Regions from separate parts of the Homo sapiens genome. Here regions 2 and 3 are each linked to region 1. Evidence: promoter capture Hi-C in human tissues and cell types (Jung and others, 2019). All regions are on one chromosome and are shown on one strand. Each heading gives the region's core, a stretch centred on a gene start or on the middle of the fragment in contact. The rest is flanking DNA. Distances are from core to core; before and after follow the strand shown.

Evidence for each region. The method cuts DNA at HindIII sites, captures the fragments that hold promoters and counts their contacts. A contact is called where the count stands out against the background at its distance.
Region 2: a contact is called between a fragment that was not itself captured here and the fragment with the promoter of AMBP in region 1, in 1 of the 25 tissues and cell types used here (IMR-90 fibroblasts).
Region 3: a contact is called between a fragment that was not itself captured here and the fragment with the promoter of AMBP in region 1, in 4 of the 25 tissues and cell types used here (H1 embryonic stem cells, IMR-90 fibroblasts, aorta and 1 more).

The regions. Positions count from the first base shown.
Region 1 is chr9:114,076,642-114,079,571 of GRCh38, reverse strand. AMBP (alpha-1-microglobulin/bikunin precursor) reads left to right here and starts at 1,272. Exons shown (of 10, transcript NM_001633.4): 1 at 1,272-1,479; 2 at 2,832-2,930. The coding sequence starts at 1,363. The HindIII fragment of the contact is 16,108 bases long and covers 1-2,930 here.
Region 2 is chr9:113,786,786-113,789,585 of GRCh38, reverse strand. No RefSeq gene overlaps it. Among named protein-coding and RNA genes, the nearest start is that of ZNF618, 88 kb to the left of the region's middle. The HindIII fragment of the contact is 3,025 bases long and covers 16-2,800 here.
Region 3 is chr9:113,759,103-113,761,802 of GRCh38, reverse strand. It overlaps the pseudogene C14orf119P1. Among named protein-coding and RNA genes, the nearest start is that of ZNF618, 120 kb to the left of the region's middle. The HindIII fragment of the contact is 4,172 bases long and covers 1-2,700 here.

The DNA of each region.
Region 1 (2,930 bases), core at 23-2,522:
AGACACCTGAGACCAAATTTTCAGCAGAGCCATGTTCCCTTTGAAGATTCTGGGGAAAAGTCCTTCCTTGCCTTTTGCTAGCTTTTGGTGGCTGCCATCAATCCTTGGTGATTTTTGACGTGTCACTGCATCCCTCCCATCTCTGCCTTCGGCGTCACGCCACATCTTCCCCGTGCTTCTCTCTGTGTCCCTGTGTCTGAGTCTCCCTCACCATTCTCTTATAAAGATACCGGTCATTGGATTTAAAACCCCTGTCATCCAGTTCAACCTCATCTAACTAATCACATCTGCAAATCAGGTTCATTCTGCGGTTCGGGGTGCACATGGATTCTGGAGGGGGCACTGTTCAACCCACCACAAACACTCAGCTCTTACTCTATGCTGGGTACTGTCCTAGCGCATTGCAGGTGCTCACTCAACAATGCTAGGAGCTAGGAACTATTATTATCCCCATTTACAGATGAGGAAACCAAGGCACTGAAAGGTAAAGTGACTTGCCCAAGGTCACACAGCAGTGAGTGCCACTGTAGGCTGCCTGGCTCCCACGTCCATGGTCTCTACCACGCCTTTCCCAGCTACTCCACTCCCGGCTGAGGGATTCTGGGCAAGTCACTTCACTTCTTGGAGACTCAACTCCTCTGCCTGTAAAGGGGACAAATAGCACCTACTTCGTAAGCTTGTTGTGGGGATTTACTGGACACCTGTGGCACGTGTAAAGTGCCTGGTACACAGCCAGCACATAGCAGGTGCTCAGTGAACGGAAGCTCGTAACAGTCATCATTGTTAATGTCTCTATTATTTGCAAAGGCTAGGGCAAGCCTGGGGGCTGGAGAAGGAACTCTGGAGACAGGATACCTGGGTTCTGGTCTTGGCTCTGCCCATAGACTTCCCTGAGGTCTCTGGCAAGTCACTTCCTCTCCTTGGGCCTCAGTTTTTTCCTGTGAGAAATGGGCCCAATCAGGCTTGACCTGCTGGCTCACAGAGCTGTGAGGTCCAGATGGCATGACTCAGCAGAAAGGCCAGGTCGCTCCCCATCCTCGCATGCCCTCTGTGGGGGACTTTTGGGGGGCGGAGCCCAATCCTGGTGCTCCAGGGCCCTATTGTGCTTGGCCAATGCCTCTTCTGAAGCAGCCATCCCGGCCTCTTGGTACTGCTGACCCCAGCCAGGCTACAGGGATCGATTGGAGCTGTCCTTGGGGCTGTAATTGGCCCCAGCTGAGCAGGGCAAACACTGAGGTCAACTACAAGCCACAGGCCCCTTCCCCAGCCTCAGTTCACAGCTGCCCTGTTGCAGGGAGGCGGTGGCCCTTCTGTTGCTAGACCGAGCCTGTGGGATATACCAAGGCAGAGGAGCCCATAGCCATGAGGAGCCTCGGGGCCCTGCTCTTGCTGCTGAGCGCCTGCCTGGCGGTGAGCGCTGGCCCTGTGCCAACGCCGCCCGACAACATCCAAGTGCAGGAAAACTTCAATATCTCTCGGGTAAGGCTGCCGCTCTCTGTGGTAGGGTGGATGTGGTGATGGGGAGTCCAGGCAGATGGGCCCTGCTGGGCAAGTGCGGCCTGTCTCGGGGTCTCAGGCTTCCACTCAGATCATCTGGGATTATGGGATCCTTTGAAGGTACAGCTCTATCCCCTGCCATTCCGTGGGTCTCTTGGCTGACATTCTATGAGTCAAACATCCTCACCTTCTGCACTGTCCTCGTGGGCTCCAAGGGGAACCCTTGTGTTAATGGGAACCTGCTCCAGAGAAGGCTTTGTCCTGCCTGCCACTGCCCTGCAGCCCCCGTGCAGACACCTAGCTTTGCCCAGACCTCCCAGCCCTTCCTTCTCTAATGACTCCCCTCTCTCTGTGGCATCTTTCCCTTAGCTCTTCCTGTGTCCCCTGCCCACATCCTGGCCTGACTGTGGACAGACACCTGGGGTGGCACAGCGTGGGCATGTGGCCAGCAGCTTTTGGGTTGGGCATGTGGGGCTTATGGGAAGAGGTGAAGCAGGACAGAGATTAGGGTTGGGAGACATTCAGAGGCTTGGGCACAAGGAGAGACCTGGACTGGGGCAGGACACTCTCCTGTGAGTGTGGAGTGCCAGAGCTGCCTTCCAGCCCCCACTCTGCCCTAAATCCCGGGGTGGCTTTGAGAATACCCTTGCCCACCTGGGGCTGTCTCCATGTCTGTATGAAGGGTCTCAGAACCTTCTAGCTGTGGTGTCATGTGGGTTTTGTTTACTTTTAGGGACAAGGAAAGGTCGTGGCAGAGGGGCAATGAGGAGCAGGTCCCTGTGGCAGTCTGGGACGCAAAGGGTGTGGGGCACATTGGCCTGTTCCGTAGGAGCCTGAGGGCTCCTTCAGCTGTCCCGTGCACTTTCAGGAGGAAGAGGAAGCAGGCCTATCCTGAATGACCCCATCATGTTCATTATACTTTTGAAATAATTCCTAACATGGGGCTGTGGGCTGCCTTGCAAGGTGGGGAGCACCCCATCATTGGAGGAGTAAAAGACAGGACTCCAGCTCTTGGGGAGCAGTGGTTGATGGAGCTATGGACAGATCCCACATCTTGAGAGAGTTAGCCCTTCTGCAGGGCAGGTTGGGACCCCAGCCGCACACCTGCTTCCTGGGTTCGCTGTGATGCCTGAAACGCCACTCTTAGGGATCTGGCCTCCCTTGAAGGTGTGTGGCCTCTGATTAGTTGTAAGACATTATCCCTTAAAAGGATAAGTCATTTTGAGGAGAAGGAGGAGGAAGAGGAGGAGGTGGAGGGTGGGGAGCAGATGTCAGCCAGGTCTGCTTTGAGGTCTGAGACTGATGCAGACCCCCAGAGCTCACCTGCCTCCTAGATCTATGGGAAGTGGTACAACCTGGCCATCGGTTCCACCTGCCCCTGGCTGAAGAAGATCATGGACAGGATGACAGTGAGCACGCTGGTGCTGGGAGAG
Region 2 (2,800 bases), core at 279-2,778, 290 kb after region 1:
GTAGGAGTCAGAAGACAGGAGGGGAGAGAGAAGAAGAAGGAGGAGGGGAAGAGAGAGGAGGAGAAGAGAGAGGAGAGGAGGGAAAGAAGGGAAAGGGAGAGGGGTTGGAGGAAGGAGAGGAGGCAGAGGCAAAGGAAGGAAGAGAGGAAGGAAAAATGGAGGGCTAACAATACCAACTAACACTTCTTGAGTATTGGGGTGTGTATGCGTGTGTGCACATGCACACGCCAAGCACACGCCAAGTATGTCATCCTCGTCAATTTGTTTAATCTGCCTCACAATCTTGAGGCAGATCATCCCCATTTCACTGATGAAGAAACTGAGGACACTGAGAGACCAAGGAACTTGTTAACGCAGCCTTAAGTGGCAGATCCAGGAGTCCAAGTTTTCAACCATCGGACTAAGCTGTCTCAAAGGAAGGAAGGGAGGGTGGGAGGAGGTAGTGAGGGAGGGAGGGAAGGAGGAGGAGAGCTGAATTCCATGGCATGAGTTCTCCTGATGTTTAAAAACCTCTCCAGCCTTCCACACACGCTTTCTCCTTAGCTCAAAAGCTAAATTAGAGCGGATTGCTCTCTCCTCACTTTAGTAATTTAGATAAAAGTAAAATTTTGTCTGAGAGCAGAAGCAATTATAGCACGGGTTTTGTGATTAACTTGATTAACACTGTTTCACTCTAAAAGTGATCCCCCCCCTTTGGCTGGCGACTGTAATCAGAGCCACGTCTTTCAACTATGCTACAGCTGCTCTCTCTCCCCCCACTCCCCAAAAAAGATTTTGACATAAATACTTATTAGGGAGGACTCTAGTCTCTGGCTGGAACAGTTGAGCAAAGAGGAGGAAAATGTCTCTCTCTACATTAGCATCTGTAGCCGATTAAAAGGCTGTCGCTTGCTACCCCAGTTACTGACAAAGATCCCAATTATGCAGCAATGAAATATACATACACGATACAGGAGGGTTTATACATTTTTAATTTTTTTCAAAGAGAAAACGTTCAGAGGAAACTCTAATTAGAGATTGCGTTTCTTTAAGAGGAAAATGATATGTGGTTTCAAGAGAGATTATTTGGGGTTATCGCTGGGCAATTGAGAATCTTTTCCAAACCCAGGTTTCTGCTCCTGAGCAAGGGCCCAGAGCCCACTGGCACTTGTAGGAATGCTGTGGTTTTCTGTCCTGTGAAGCTTTGAAATTTGAATCCCTGGGGAAGGAGGGAGTTGGGGTCCTAGCCAGCACCCCATTGTCTCCTCTCCTGGGACACTCCCCGGGATTCTGGTGTTTCTGTTCTCCTCTCTTCCCTCTGTCCTTGCCCAGGCCTACCTGGCCATCGAGACGGCAGCTGCTACTTCTGTCATCCCCTCTCGTAGCTAGGCACTCTACAGAATCCTCTTGTTTAACCAAACCTACTAGCCTAGAGGTAGGAATTACTGCTCCCCTGTTGGGGCAGATAAAGAAATGAGTGCCGAGGAGTCAGGTCACCTGCCCAAGGTCACACAGCTGCTCAGTGATGGAGCGGATTAGGATCCAAGCTGACTTGCCCCAGAGCCCCTGCCGGCTCTCCTTGGCTGTGCAAATGCATGGAGATTGCAGGATGGTGATTACAGGATGGTACAGCTCAGAGGGACTGTGGAGAGAGGCCACCCACCAACTCAGCAGCAGAGGAAACTGAGGCCCCAGGAAGGAAAGTGAGGCCGGCTTCCCGGGCCCCACCTCTCACCTCTGCGTTTAGACCAGCTCTGTCCTAGGTCCTGTGTACTGGCCTCTAAGACTTGCAGGCTTCCATATCTGGTGCTCAGCAAGCCAAAGAGGCATCTTTTCCTAAAATCCAGAGCCTTTTCTAGAGATGTGATTGCTGTGGCTGGCTTCTAGATCTCTCTAGAACATTTCTGGGAGCCTCCAACACCTCTGCCTATGCAAAAGTTCCAGACACTCTGATTCCCCACTTTTGAAGTCTCTGTAAATTATCTAGATTCTCACTGAAATCAAGTTCTTGCAAATTTCATGTCACTGATGGGCTCAGATTTTGCAGTTTATCTCCTTTGTATATCATTTACCCTCCACATAGGCCATCCACTCTGGAAATCTAGAGCCTTTTCTAGCCTTTTCCAGTGACAATGTCCTCCCAGGGAAGGTGAAGCAGAAGTGACATCATGGTATATCATTGACAGGAGTTCTTAGGCTAGACTGTGTTCATATCCCAGCTCAGCCCTCTGTCAACTAGATGACCTTCAGCAGGCTCCTGACCTCTCTGGGCCTCAGTTTCCCTACCTATAAAATGAGGATGAAAATAATGGTATAGACCTTGTAGGACTGAAGTTTAAAGAAGGTTATTTGTTGGAAGCATATAGATTAGAGCATCTAGAAAGCTCTCAATGTTAGTGCTTCTAATTATCATCACTCCATGCCTACATAGGTTGAGTCATATGAAATGGTCCTTTTGTAGGTTAAAGCTGGTCACCTATCAGTTTAATATGTTCCAATGTAGTATGGAGGTGAACACTCGAAACCTAGTATCACCTAGTAGCATCTCGATACTAGCAACCTAGTATCGAGGTAAGCACTTGAAACTAGTATCACCTCAATACTAGCAACCTAGTATCAAGGTGAGCACTCACTGTGGGCAGATCCTGGGCTTCCCAAGCACCCTCTGGGCAAGTGCATATGGAAGCAGATGGCAGAGTGGAGCAGGGATTCAAACCCAGGTCCGCTTGGTTCTCAGACTCCTGGACATGCGGGTGGTCACTTCGCAGTTCTAAGCCACATTTTCAAACCCCAATTCAGCCCTCTCTCCACTGTACCTCCC
Region 3 (2,700 bases), core at 53-2,552, 320 kb after region 1:
TCTTTAAACTCATCTTATCATGGCTCTTTGATTTTTGCTATAAATTTTTAGAATCAATGTGTCAAGCTCCACAAAATACTATAAAGCTTTTAATTGGAAGTACATTAAATTTATGAATTAATTTATAGAGTATTTACAATATTATAATATTGAGTCTTCTTATCTATGTACATGGTATATATCTCCCTTTATTTAGACTTATCTCTAACTTTTTTCAATAAAGGATTAAACATTTCTTCACAAATCCTATGCTCATATTTGGTTAGATTTATTCTTATGCTTCTTATGTCCCTTAAGATATCACAAACCTTTAAAATTTCATTTTCTAGTATCTGTGACTGGTGCACAGAAAGTGAATGATTTTAAAGTTTTGACCTCTATATCCAGAAACCTTGCAAAATTTGTTAATTATAATATTTGAAGAGTCTCTTATGTTGTCTTAATCTATAATAATTTACTCCACAAATTTTATTTTTCATCCTTTCCAAACCTTTTACCTTTTTTTTGCCTGTCTTAGAGGTTCGGTTAGAGTCTTCAGTACAATGCTGAATGGAAGCTGTGCTGTTGGATCCCTTGCCTTTTCCTGAATTTAAATCAATTGCTTCTAACATTTTCCTATTAAATATAATGTTTGCTGTATATTTTTGTATGTTTTTTATCCCTTTATCAAGTTAAGAAAATTCTGTTTCTTCTTTCCCAATTTTTTTTAAATACAAATGACCGTTAGATGTTTTCAAATGATTTCTGCATGTGCTGATGACCATGAGTTTTTCTCCTTTAATGTGAACCATCTTTGGATTCCCGAGATATAACCAATTTAATAATGATTATATGCATTTATATACATATACACATATGGTTTGCAAATATTTTTGTTTCTGCATCTATATTAATGAATGAGAATGGTGTGTAACTTACATTCCTCATGGTGTGCATGTCTATTTTGCATCAAGGACTTAGTACCTTCATAAAATGAATTGATGAGCGTTTCTTAATCTATTAGCTTCTGGAAGAGTTTGTGGAAGGTTGAAATTGTTTGTTACTTGACAGACTGTTAGAACTCATTGCTTAAATTGTGTAGGATGGGTGTTTTGAAGGTAAATATATTTTAAACTACTGATCCCCTTTCTTCAGATGGAATAAACTACTCAAGTTTTCTATTCTTCTTGATTCAATGATAATAAATAACACTTTAATAGGAAGTTGTCCATTGCATTTAAGCACTCAATTTTCTTTGCATAAAGTTATTTGTGGTACTGTCTGTTACATCTGTGGCTATCGTTCTTTTATATTTATAATATTTCATATTTGTGTCTTCCCTTTCCTTACTTCATCGGTTGCCAGAGGTTTTCTTAGTCTCTTCAATCTTTATTATATATTTCTTCTCAATTTTATTAATTTTTGTGCTTGGATTATTTCCTCCTTTACTTGCTTTTTATTATTTTTAGTATTTCTTATTTTCTATATAAACATTAAAGTAATAAATTGCCACCTGCCAATACATATATACATTTTCAGCAGTTTTACTATGCTATGCATAGATGTGCTTTTCTTCATATTCATAATTAGAATACACTGAGATTTTTAAATCTGTAAATTTATATCTTTCACCAAATTTTTGAAAATTTCAGCCATTATTTCTTCAATTTTTGTTTTGCCTTATTCTCTCTTTCTTCTGTTTCTGAGACTCAAATTATACATATGTTAGACCTTATGCTCTGGTGCCCTAGGTCCCTGAAGCTGTGTTCAATTTTTTTAAATAAAATTTAGCTTTTCAAATAGTTTTAGGCTTGTAGAAAAATTGTGATGATAACACTGAGAGTTGCCATATACTCCATACCCAGTGTTCCCTATTATTTTATATATTATGATACATTTGTTAGAATTAATGAACCAATTTGATACATTACTTTAAACTGAAGTCCCTACTTTGTTCAGATTTCTTTGGTTTTTATCTTCTTCTGTTCCAGGATCTCATCCAGAATCCCACATTACATTTATTTACCATGTCTCCTTAGGTTCCTCTGGGCTTTGATGATTTCTAAAACTTTCCTTGTTTTTTTCTTTTTTTTTTTTTTTTTTTTTGGCCTCGACAGTGTTGAGTACTAGTCAGGTATTTTATGGAATGTCTCTCAATTAGGATTTATATAACTTTCCCCCTCACAATTAGAATAAAGCTTGGGGGAAGAAAAGCACAGAGTCAAAGTGACATTTTCATCACATCACATTAAGGGTACATACTATTAACATGACTGATATGGTTTGGATCAGTGTCCCCACCCAAATCTCATATCAAATTGTAATCCCTAGAAGCTGCAGCAGTAGTTGGAATCTAAGGACTCTTGTGACAATCTCCAGGTGCCTTCTGAGGGAAAAGGGGAGGATGCCACTGGAGTCATCTTCCCTTTCAACGCCACTATCTTTCCCTTCTCTTTTACCCTCAGTACCAGACGATATTAGTTCTTCCCCTTCTCCAATGTCTTACATCACTTCCCAGGAGATGAAGTGTATTCTTCACTGATTTGCCAATTAGTCAGGTCCCCAGTGTGAACGTTTCCTGGAGGACCTGGTAGCTAAGGCAGTGCCAGGAAAAGTACAGCCACTGCCAAATAGTCTGGTGCAGCTTAGTGTGTCCGGGGCAAATGGACCACCTTGTATCTTTGAGTGCCAGCTATGTCTTTGGGATCAGTGGTCTCAAGG